Linked DNA regions of Homo sapiens: region 1 is linked to region 2. Evidence: promoter capture Hi-C in human tissues and cell types (Jung and others, 2019). All regions are on one chromosome and are shown on one strand. The core of a region is centred on a gene start or on the middle of the fragment in contact, and the rest is flanking DNA. Distances in the headings are between cores, read along the strand shown. Region 1 overlaps LOC107985411 (a long non-coding RNA gene). Region 2 holds the start of PROKR2 (prokineticin receptor 2).

Region 1 (5,086 bases), core at 393-2,892, 150 kb before region 2:
CAAGTCCAGGAAGAATGAGGTTACTCAGGCAACTGGAGGGTGAGGATGGAGAAGAGCTTTATTGAGCAACAGAACAGCTCTCAGCAGAGAGGAGACCCAAAGTGGGTAGCTCCTACCTGCAGGAAGGTAATCCCAATGTGTGTCTGAGTCCTGCTGAGTCTAGGGGTTATTATAGGTGCAGAATGGAGGAAGTGCATGCTGATTGGTCCATGAGTGGGAGGAAGTGCATGCTGATTGGTTCAAGGGTAGGTCCAAAAAACCAGTCACCATCAACTGGCTGAAAGGCATCAAGGAAATTCTTACTCCCAGTCAGGGACTCCACCTGGAACTGGCAGCTTGGCCTCCAGGCTTCAGGCCATCCCTGGTTTGAAGGTTGGGCCTCACCAGGGACCCACCCCTTCCCACCTAGGTACCTGTCTGCCTCCTGCCACCATCACTATTGTTAAATCTCAGGGTGGAAGGCATGAGGGGTGGGCAATGGGAAGTGTAAATTTGTGAATTATCACTTTGGCTAAGTGAATGACTTAGTTTACAGTAATCTGTCATCCTATTTTATGATATCAAGTGTTTTGAACCTTTGATATTAGACAAACTTTTCAAAATCAAAGCTTCAAGTTCTAAATTTAGTCTTTTTGACCTTAAACTAACCTTTTAGATATTAATGTCCCTGAAAGTCCAAGAGAGACGTATTGGGTTTATTTGGTATGTTAAAATCCTAGAGAAAGCCTTGTCAAATATGAAACAGTGTTTGCCTTTCCTTGGATTATATTTTATGGGTGTTATTAATATGTCTTCCAAAATTGTATGAGATACATATAATTCTGATGTCTTAATGTATGTTATTAGTAATAATTATAATTATTATGTTAAATTTTTTTCTGTTACAGAAGTAATCAAATTTTCTTGCCAATTGTGTCTTTAACCATGGCTGATCTAAGACTGTTGCCATCCACAGACAATTATTGTTTTACTTTTTGATTCTTCTCAAAAAGAGGTTCATAATCAGCTGTAGACCAAAATTTGCTTCTATATGGAAATTCATGGAAAAGACTCTGACAAGTATTCTTAAATACAGGTTTCTGAAGGGGGCCAAGATGGCCCAATAGGAACAGCTCCAGTCTGCAGCTCCCAGAAAGACCAACGCAGAAGGCAGGTGATTTCTGCATTTCCAACTGAGGTACCCAGTTCATCTCACTGGGACTGGTTAGGCAGTGGGTCCAACCCACAGAAGGCGAGCAGAAGCAGGGTGGGGTGTCACTTTGCCCAGGAAGTGCAAGGAGCTGGGGGACCTCCCTCCTCAAGCCAAGGGAAGCCATGAGGGACTGTGCTACCTGGGACAGGTTACTACACTTTTCCCATGGTTTGTATAATCTGCAGATCAGGAGATTCCTTCGTGTGCCTACACCAACAGGGCCTGGGATTTCAAGCAGAAAACACAAGTGGCTGTTTGGGCAGACGCCAAGCTAGCTGCAGGAGTTTGTTTTTCCTATCCCAGTGGCATCTGGAACCCCAGCAAGACAGAACTGTCCACTGCTCTGGAAAGGGGGCTGAAGCCAGGGAGCCATGTGGTCTCGCTCAGTGGGTCCCACTCCCACGGAGCCCAGCAGGCTAAGAACCACTGGCTTGAAATTCTCGCTCCCAGCACAGCAGTCTGAGGTCGACCTGGGACAACTGAGCTTGCTGTGGGGAGGGGCATCTGCCATCACTGAGGCTTTAGTAGGCGGTTTTCCCCTGACAGTGCTAAGGAGGCTGGGAAGTCTGGGCTGGTTGCAGCAAAGCAGCTGTGGCCAGACTGCTTCTCTAGATTCCTCCTCACTAGGTAGGGCATCTCAGGGGAAAGGTAACAGCCCCAGTCAGGGGCTTACAGACAAAACCTCCATCTCCCTAGGACAGAGCACCTGAGGGAACGGGTGGCTGTGGGTGCAGCTTCAGCAGATTTAATCGTTCCTGCCTGCCAGCTCTGAGGAGAGCAGCTGATCCTGATGAGAGGGATTCTCCCAGCATAGTGCACCAGCTCTGCTAGGGGACAGACTGCCTCCTCAAGTGGGTCCCTGATCCCCGTGCCTACTGACTGAGAGAGACCTCCCAACAGGGGTTGACAGACACCTCATACAGAAGAGCTACAGCCGGCATCAGGCTGTGGGACAAAGCTTCCAGAGGAAGGAGCAGGCAGCTATCTTTGCTGTTCTGCAGCCTCCACTGGTGATACCCAGGCAAACAGGGTCTGGAGTGGACCTCTAGCAAACTGCAGCAGACCTGCAGAAGAGGGGCCTGACTGTTAGAAGAAAAACTAACAAACAGAAAGCAACAACATCAACATCAACATAAAGGACCCCCACACAAAAACCCCATCAAAAGGTCATCAGTCTCAAAGATCAAAGGTAGATAAATCTAGAAAGATGAGGAAAAACCAGTGCAAAAATGCTGAAAATTCCAAAAATCAGAATGCCTCTTGTCCTTCAAATGATTGCAACTCCTGTCCAGCAAGGGCACAAAACTGGACAGAGAATGAGATTGATGAATTGACAGAAGCAGGCTTCAGAAGGTGGGTAATAACAAACTCCTCAGAGCTAAAGGATCATGTCCTAACCAATGCAAGGAAGCTAAGAACCTTGGTAAAAGGAACTGCTAAGTAGAATAACCACTTTAGAGAGGAACATTAATGACCTGATGGAGCTGAAAAACATGGCATGAGAACTTTGTGAAGCATACACAAGTATCAATAGCCGAATCGATCAAGCAGAAGAAAGGATATCAGAGACTGAAGATCAACTTACTGAAATAAGGCATGAAGACATGATTAGAGAAAAAGGAACGAAAAGGAATAAACAAAGCCTCCAAGAAATATAGTACTATGTGAAAAGATCAAACCTATGATTGATTGGAGTTCCTGAAAGTGACAGGGAGAATGGAAGACACACTTCAGGATATTATCCAGGAGAACTTTCCCAACCTAGCAAGACAGGCCAACATTCAAATTCAGGAAATACAAAGAATATCACTAGGACGGTCCTTGAGAAGAGCAACCCCAAGACACATAATCGTCAGATTCTCCAAGGTTGAAATGAAGGAAAAAATGTTAAGGGCAGCCAGAGAGAAAGGTCAGGTTACCTACAAAGGGAAGCCTATCAGACTAACAGTGGATCTCTCGGCAGAAACCCTACAAGCCAGAAGAAAGTGGGGGGCAATATTCAACATTCTTAAAGAAAAGAATTTTCAACCCAGAATTTCATATCCAGCCAAACTAAGCTTTATAAGCAAAGGAGAACTAAAACCCTTTCCAGACAAACAAATGCTGAGGGATTTTGTCACCACCAGGCCTGCCTTACAAGAGCTCCTGAAGGAAGCACTAAATATGGAAAGAAAAAACTGGTGCCAGCCACTGCAGAAACACACCAAAATATAAAGACCAATGACACTATGAAGAAACTGCATCAATGAATGTGCAAAATAATCAGCTAGCGTCATGATGACAGGATCAAATTCACACATAACAATATTAACCTTAAATGTAAATGGGCTAAATGTCCCAATTAAAAGGCGCAGACTGGAAAATTGGATAAAGAGTCAAGACCCATTGGTGTGCTGTATTTAGGAGACCCAACTCACATGCAAAGACACACATAGGCTCAAAATAAACGGATGGAGAATATTTACCAAGCAAATGAAAATTTAAAAAAAGCAGGAGTTGCAATCCTAGTCTCTGATAAAATGGACTTTAAACCAACAACGATCAAAAAAGATAAAGAAGGGCATTACATAATGGTAAAGGGATCAATGCAACAAGAGCTAACTATCCTAAATATATATGCAACCAGATTCATAAAACAAGTTTTCAGAGACCTACAAAGAGACTTAGACTTCCGCACAATAATAGTGGAAGACTTTAACATCCCACTGCCAATATGTTAGACAGATCAACAAGACAGAAAACTGACAAGGATATTCAGGACTTGAACTCAGCTGTGGACCAAGTGGACCTAATAGACATCTACAGAACTCTCCACCCCAAATCAACAGAATATACATTCTTCTCAGTGCCACATAGCATTTATTCTAAAATGACCACATAATTGGAAGGAAAACACTCCTCAGCAAATGCAAAAGAACAGAAATCATAACAGTCTCTCTGACCACAGTGCATCAAATTAGAACTCAGGATTAAGAAACACATTCAAAACCACACTACTACATGGAAATTGAACAACTGCTCCTGAATGACTACTGGATAAATAATGAAATGAAGGCAGAAATAAAGAAGTTCTTTGAAACCAATGAGAACAAAGAGACAACATACCAGAATCTCTAGGACACAGCTAAAGCAGTGTTAAGAGGGAAATTTATAGCACTAAATGCCCACATCAGAAAGCTGGAAAGATCTAGAATCGATACCCTAACATCACAATTAAAAGAACTAGAGAAGCAAGAGCAAACAAATTCAAAAGCTAGCAGAAGACTAGAAAAACTAAGATCAGAGCAGAACTGAAGGAGATGGAGACACAAAAAACCCTTCAAAAAATCAATCAATCCAGGAGCTGGTTTTATGAGAAGATTAACAAAATAGATGAACCGCTAGCTAGACTAGTAAAGAAGAAAAGAGAGAAAATCAAATAGACACAATAAAAAATGATAAAGGGGATATCACCACTGATCCCACAGAAATACAAACTACCATCAGAGAATACTATAAACACCTCTAAGCCAGTAAACTAGAAAATGTAGAAGAAATGGATAAATTCCTGGACACATACACCCTCCCAAGACTAAACCAGCAAGAAGTTGAGTCCCTGAATAGACCAATAACAAGTTCTGAAATTGAGGCAGTAATTAGTAGCCTACCAATGAAAAAAAGCCCAGGACCAGATGGATTCACAGCCGAATTCTACCAGAGGTATAAAGAGGAGCTGGTACCATTCCTTCTGAAACTATTCCAAACAACAGAAAAAGATGGACTCCTCCCTAGCTCATTTTATGAGGCCAGCATCATCCTTATACCAAAACCTGGCAAAGACACAACAAAAAAAAGAAAATTTCAGGCCAATATTCCTGATGAACATCGATGCGAAAATCCTCAATAAAATACTGG
Region 2 (5,462 bases), core at 2,230-4,729:
TTAAAAAAAAATTTTGTGGAAACGGGGTCTCACTAGGTTGCCCAGGCTGGTCTCAAACTCCTGGCCCCAAACCATCTTTCCACCTTGGCCTCCTAAAGTGCTGGAATTACAAGCATGAGCCACTCTGCCTAGCCTCAAGGCTTTTTAATATGTATTGGAAAATCAAGCTCCAGAGAATCTGTATTCATTTCTTTACAATTAAGAAAGTTTACATATAAAACCTTTATAAACCTGAAGATCCATGTGGCTTTGTCTTAGAAAGGAGTCACTTTCAAGAAACATAAATCAAATGTCAAAAGTAATTTAGGGGCCAGGTGCTGTGATTCACACCTGTAATCTCAGCATTTTGGTAGGCTGAGGCAGGAAGATCGCTTGAGCCCAGGAGTTCAAGACCAGCCTGGGCAACATGGCAAGACTTCGTTTCTTGTTTTTGTTTTTGTTTTGTTTTGTTTTCTAAAAATTAAAAAAAAAAATGCTGGGCGTGGTTTTGGGCGCCTGTATTTCCAACTGTTAGGGAGGCCAAAGCTGAAAGACTGCTTGAGTCTGGAAAGTCCAGGATGCAGTGAGCCACAATCACACTAGGGCACTCCAGCCTAGGTGACAGAGAGAGACCCTGTTCCCAAAAAGTAAAAATAAAAATAAAAAAAAAATCTGGGGTCAAGCGCAGTGGCTCGAGACTGTAGTCTCAGCTACTCAGGAGCCTGAAGTGGGAGGATCACTTGAGCCTGAGAGTTTGAGGCTGCAGTGAGCTATGATTGTTCTATTGCACTCCAGCTTGGGTGACAGATTGACACCCTGTCTCTAAAAAATAAATAAGTAAATAAATAAATAGTAAAAGTAATTTAAAAGAAATTACCTGAAAATCAAATTTACCTGACACACCCTGAGTTCTCTGTCCCCTTTATACACACGCTGACACATATTCTGAGTAGTGCAGTGGGAGAGGGGATCCTAAATGTGGTTCCATCTGGCAATCTCAGGCTGACCCAACAATTCAACCCTCCCTTTTAGGGAGTATCTTTGAGAGATGTTATTCTGAGGCGGTGTTAACCCACTCCAATCTCCTGGATTTATACTAGTGGAGTGGCTGCCATGGAATAGGATTCGTGGGGGAAATAACAAAAAACATTCAGATTTAATGTTGTCGAAATATTATACCTGTTAAATTTTTATTATTCGTGTCTCTTGAGTGGATTCAAACATATAATCTTCTGGCTCTGTATCAAAGTATCCTTACCTCATCCATTTTCCTCACATCCAGTTGTTTGTAGATAATGCCTCCCCTGAGGCTCTGCAGCAACTCCTGCCTGCATGGATTTTCTTTCCTCCCCTTTCCCTTTTCCCCTCCCTCAGCACTTTATCATGTAGTTCAGCTAAGCCTCCCTCACCCAGAAAGACTTCAGACAGAAAACTCTTTCAGAGACAAGAAGAGACTTTGGACTTGCAATTAGAGAAATCTCTTTGACTAGAAGGGGAAGTCATCTCCATTTCCCCAGTTCTTGCCAGCTTTGTGAGCCCAAGTGGGGATGTAAGTTGCCTCCAAGTATATAATGCAAAGTCTCCAGCCCCTCTCAAAATCCCACTCAGCCCACCCAGTTTCTCTGGGTTCACACCCAGTTCAGTCTATGAACTCCAGCAGAAGTATGGCTCCTGCCCGCCTCATCAAAGGCAATGTCCCCTCTGCTGCCCTCCTGTAGCAGATGTGAGAGTGACGGCCTGCCCAGAATCTCCTCTGCTCACCTGCAGATGCAGTTCCAGGCACCATGACACCTCCCATCCAAGGCCTGAAGCTCTCTTCTTTTCAGCCTTGGGCTTTCTGCACCACACCGGGACACAACTCAAAAGTGAGGGAAATTCTGGCTCTCAGGGAATCTGTCCATCAGTAGGGGGTAGGAATCGATGGCTGAATGTCCAGCCTCCCCGCGCTGCTGTGAACAACCATGAGGCATGTTCTACACGGTCTGCAGGTCAACTGGAGTGAGCCGCAGTGGCACCCTGCTCGTTAGCATATCGTGTATGGGCCCTTCTCCCTTCCCTGCCTCACTTCCCCTCCCCCTGTGTGTGCTTCCCGGGATCTGCTCCCAATAAACTACCTGCACTCAGGTCTTTGTCTGGGAGTCTCCTTGGGGGAAACCTAAACTAAGACAACTCCCCGTAGCACTCTGTTGCACTGTTTTCTAAGCACCCACTGTCTCCCTGGGGACCACATGTCCATCCCCAGAAAAAGCTCCTACTCTGCTGAGGGTGGTCAGGACTTGGAGTTACTACAGCGACATCTGTGGGTCGCCAGATCTGTGTGGAAGCAACCATGCCTTAACTCATCTCAGAGGATTCCATGAAAGCACCAGCGGGCAGATGGTCCCAGGGGTCTGTTTGCCCCCATTGAATAGGGCAGGCATGGTCCATGAGCGAAGAAGCCTCTAGCTGAAGTTGGTAAGTATGCACTATTGCAAAGAATGTGTCCAGGGCGTACAACTGGCCACCCCATCATCTCCCCCACTCAAGCAACAGAGCTTTTTTGCCTCCATATCTGGAAGTTGCCCTGAGCATGTAGAACACCTGCCCAATCGCAGCCCCTCCCCAGGAGGAAAGCAAACAGCTGGCTCTCTTGCCTTTGATCATGCGGGAGAGATGCTAAGAGGTAGGGAGAGTGGGGTCAGGTTCCAGGTAAGGTGGGAAAAGCAGAATCACAGAATGTCACAACCTGAAGGAGTTTGAAGTTCATTTATCCAAAAATTTTTAATTGGCAGCCTTGTGGACTGTGTTCAGTCTGAGACAGGTTCTCTTTGACCAAAACAAGATTTTTGCTTTAACGAACCCAAAGACTATTTTTAAAGTTCTCGAATTCCAGATTCTCTTGAAAACAATGGGAAGCTCTGACAAAGTGGAGTCCATGTTCCCACCTGCCAATAATCCGCTGGCTGGGGTTTAACGATGGGGAACACCTTTTTAGACCTTCAGGGTCCTGCCACAGGTTCAATCCTGTATGCCCAGAGCTTCCTGGGCACCAGTCATTTGAATGGGCAGTTCCTGTGTTTAACCAGGAAGGTCGTGGGAGGATTTCGAACCTGTCAGAAGCAAAGTGAAGGGCTCCAGACTCTCCGGACAGATGGGCTGAGGCACTCCTGGGATTGTCTTTATACGGCCATGGAATCTGATAGTGGTGGTCATCGCAAAGTTTGGGTGAGGACTTCAGGGGCTTTGAGCAGAGCAAACTGTCCCCATCCCCAGCTTCCTCCTGGGGGCCTCCTCCTTCACCGCCATCTCCAAAGGCCCACACCGCACTCGTCGGAGCCGGGCTTTCCTTGAAAGGGTCACCTTCTAGTGGGCGCGGACGCTGGCACTGGGCACCTCCGGAAGACAGGACTCTCCCCTCCTGCGCGCGCGACCCGGGTGCGGTGCCACGACTGGCGGCAGAGGGCGGTGCTCACTGTTCCCAAGCGCACGGTAGAAACCCGGCTACTGTGTGGTCCGATTCAGACGGGATGCGAAGGCGCTGAAATCCGTGCGAGAGGCTGCCCCCGCTGCCGGGGACTCGCGTCAGCGCGGCCGGAGCTACGGTGCCCGCGCCCTGGACGCACCAGCCCGAGAGCACGCGGTGGGGTGGGGGAGCTGGGCATCCACCCTTGGCCTGGACTAGGAGGCAGGCGGGGACCCCGGGGCGGAGTCCAGCGCGGGGCGGGGCGCACAGGTCCGAGACGCTGGAAAGAGCTGTGGGGCCGGAGCGCCAACTCCAGCTGGAACCCAGAGACCCTGACACGCCGGAGGAGCCCGCCGGGGCGAGGAAAAAAGAGGGACATCCCCCACGCAGCGGCTCTGCAAGTGCAAGTCCGGGTCCTCGAGGTGAAAACCGAGCGGCCCGCCTGCGCCCAACCACACTGTGACTCTCGATCCGGCTTCCGGAGCAGCAGAGCGCACAGAAAGGAGGCGCCGAGACAGGTAAGGGCTTAGATCCCTGCAGTCCCGGGACTCAGTCGGTGCGGTGGGGGAGTCGCTAGGACAAGGGCCTCTGACGCCCACTTTTTTCTCGGGCATTCCGGCTGCTTTGCCTCCCGCCACTCTCGAGATATGCGTCGGGGCTGGCTCCAAGCAGGCGAGTTGGTTTCAGGAGATCCCCTCTGGGCCCTCTAGGACCGGGTAGGGTACGGTAAGCGGAGTCTGTGGTGTGCGGGCGCGGGCAGAGGGAGCCAGCGGGTAGCTGAGCTCGCGGACGAGCTCCAAATTGCAGGGGAGGGTGCAGGTAGAGGGGCACCTTCCTGAAAGGTGAGCAGGAAACAGCAAGCGTCCGTGGGGAAATTCCCGCGCACCGCATCCTCCACCCACCCGCCGTTTTCTTCCAGCCAGGAGGCACCGCAGCCTTTGCTTCTAGAGCCTGAATTTCTGACTTGATTCCTGTCTTTGCCAGGATGTCGCCTCTAGACGCCGACAGTGCGGCCGCGTTGATGGGGCGGGAAGGGGGCTGCTGGAACGGGTCGCTCCCGGGCGGGGAGTGCAATCTACGAAAATGCGGCTGGGACCTGTCCCAGCCCGGGCGCGCGCCCTCTTGTCTTGGGTTAGGGGGCTGGAAAGCCGAGGAGGGGTAGGACTCCCCATTCTTGGTCCCACGCTGAGCAGAGGCTGCGGGGATTGGGGTGTCGCATGAGACGGAGGGGCGACCTGGAGAGAAGACACCTCCGGGTGTGGACGCCACTGGGATTTGCATCTCGCCTCTTGGAGGTTTTCACCTTGGGAAAGCAGCTGGCGGGCGCACCCCAGGTTAGGGTGTCTTTTGCTGGCGCGCAGTTCCTGTCCCTCGGCGTTCTCCTCCCCTCGCAGGAGTGGACCAAATGCATTGTTCAGCTGGGTCATCTCCTTGCTACCCAGCATCCCGCGGCGCCCACATGTGGAGTCGTTTCCAGGTGTGCTGAGAGGCGAGGGGAAGGCCACTCACAGCTGGACAGCCAGGGCCCCTTTCTATAGGTGTTGGGATCTGGGCTCTTTTTCCAGCCCCTCGGTGAAGCCTTGTACCCTGGGGTGCCCTATCTCCTGCGGGCTGAGGGCTTCAGAGACTATTTTCCCTATTTTGAGACCTTGGTGACAGGACATGGTGCCTTTCAGGCAGGGTTGACTCTGGGTGGAGAACTAGGGCCAAGTGAAGGAGGTCAGAGAGCAGATCCAAAGTTGGAGTAGGGTGGGAAGGGCGGCAGAGGATTTCTTTCTGGAGCTGGTTCCCACAGAACGGGGAGCAGCAGGGGAATTCCCCTCCCCCACCCCACCACCACCTCCTCCACCTACAGCGCCCTGGTCATGCACTCAACAGATGTCTGTCTAGCCCCCACTATGCACCAGGCACTGGACTGGGCAGCAGGAATTTGGTTTACAGGAAGATTAGGACTCAGAGAGCATAAATCACTGGCCCAGGGTGACTCAGTCTGTCCATGTGAAAGTGAACTTGGTGATTTCCAAGTCTATGGCTTGGTCAG

Evidence for each region. The method cuts DNA at HindIII sites, captures the fragments that hold promoters and counts their contacts. A contact is called where the count stands out against the background at its distance.
Region 1: a fragment that was not itself captured here is called in contact with the fragment with the promoter of PROKR2 in region 2 in 2 of the 25 tissues and cell types used here (H1 embryonic stem cells and IMR-90 fibroblasts).

What each region holds. Positions count from the first base shown.
Region 1 is chr20:5,459,827-5,464,912 of GRCh38, reverse strand. It overlaps LOC107985411 (a long non-coding RNA gene), which reads left to right. Exons shown (of 3, transcript XR_001754485.1): 2 at 1-126; 3 at 888-1,167. Among named protein-coding and RNA genes, the nearest start is that of LINC00658, 17 kb to the right of the region's middle. The HindIII fragment of the contact is 5,081 bases long and covers 1-4,182 here.
Region 2 is chr20:5,314,971-5,320,432 of GRCh38, reverse strand. PROKR2 (prokineticin receptor 2) reads left to right here and starts at 3,479. Exons shown (of 3, transcript NM_144773.4): 1 at 3,479-3,939. The HindIII fragment of the contact is 13,355 bases long and covers 1-5,462 here.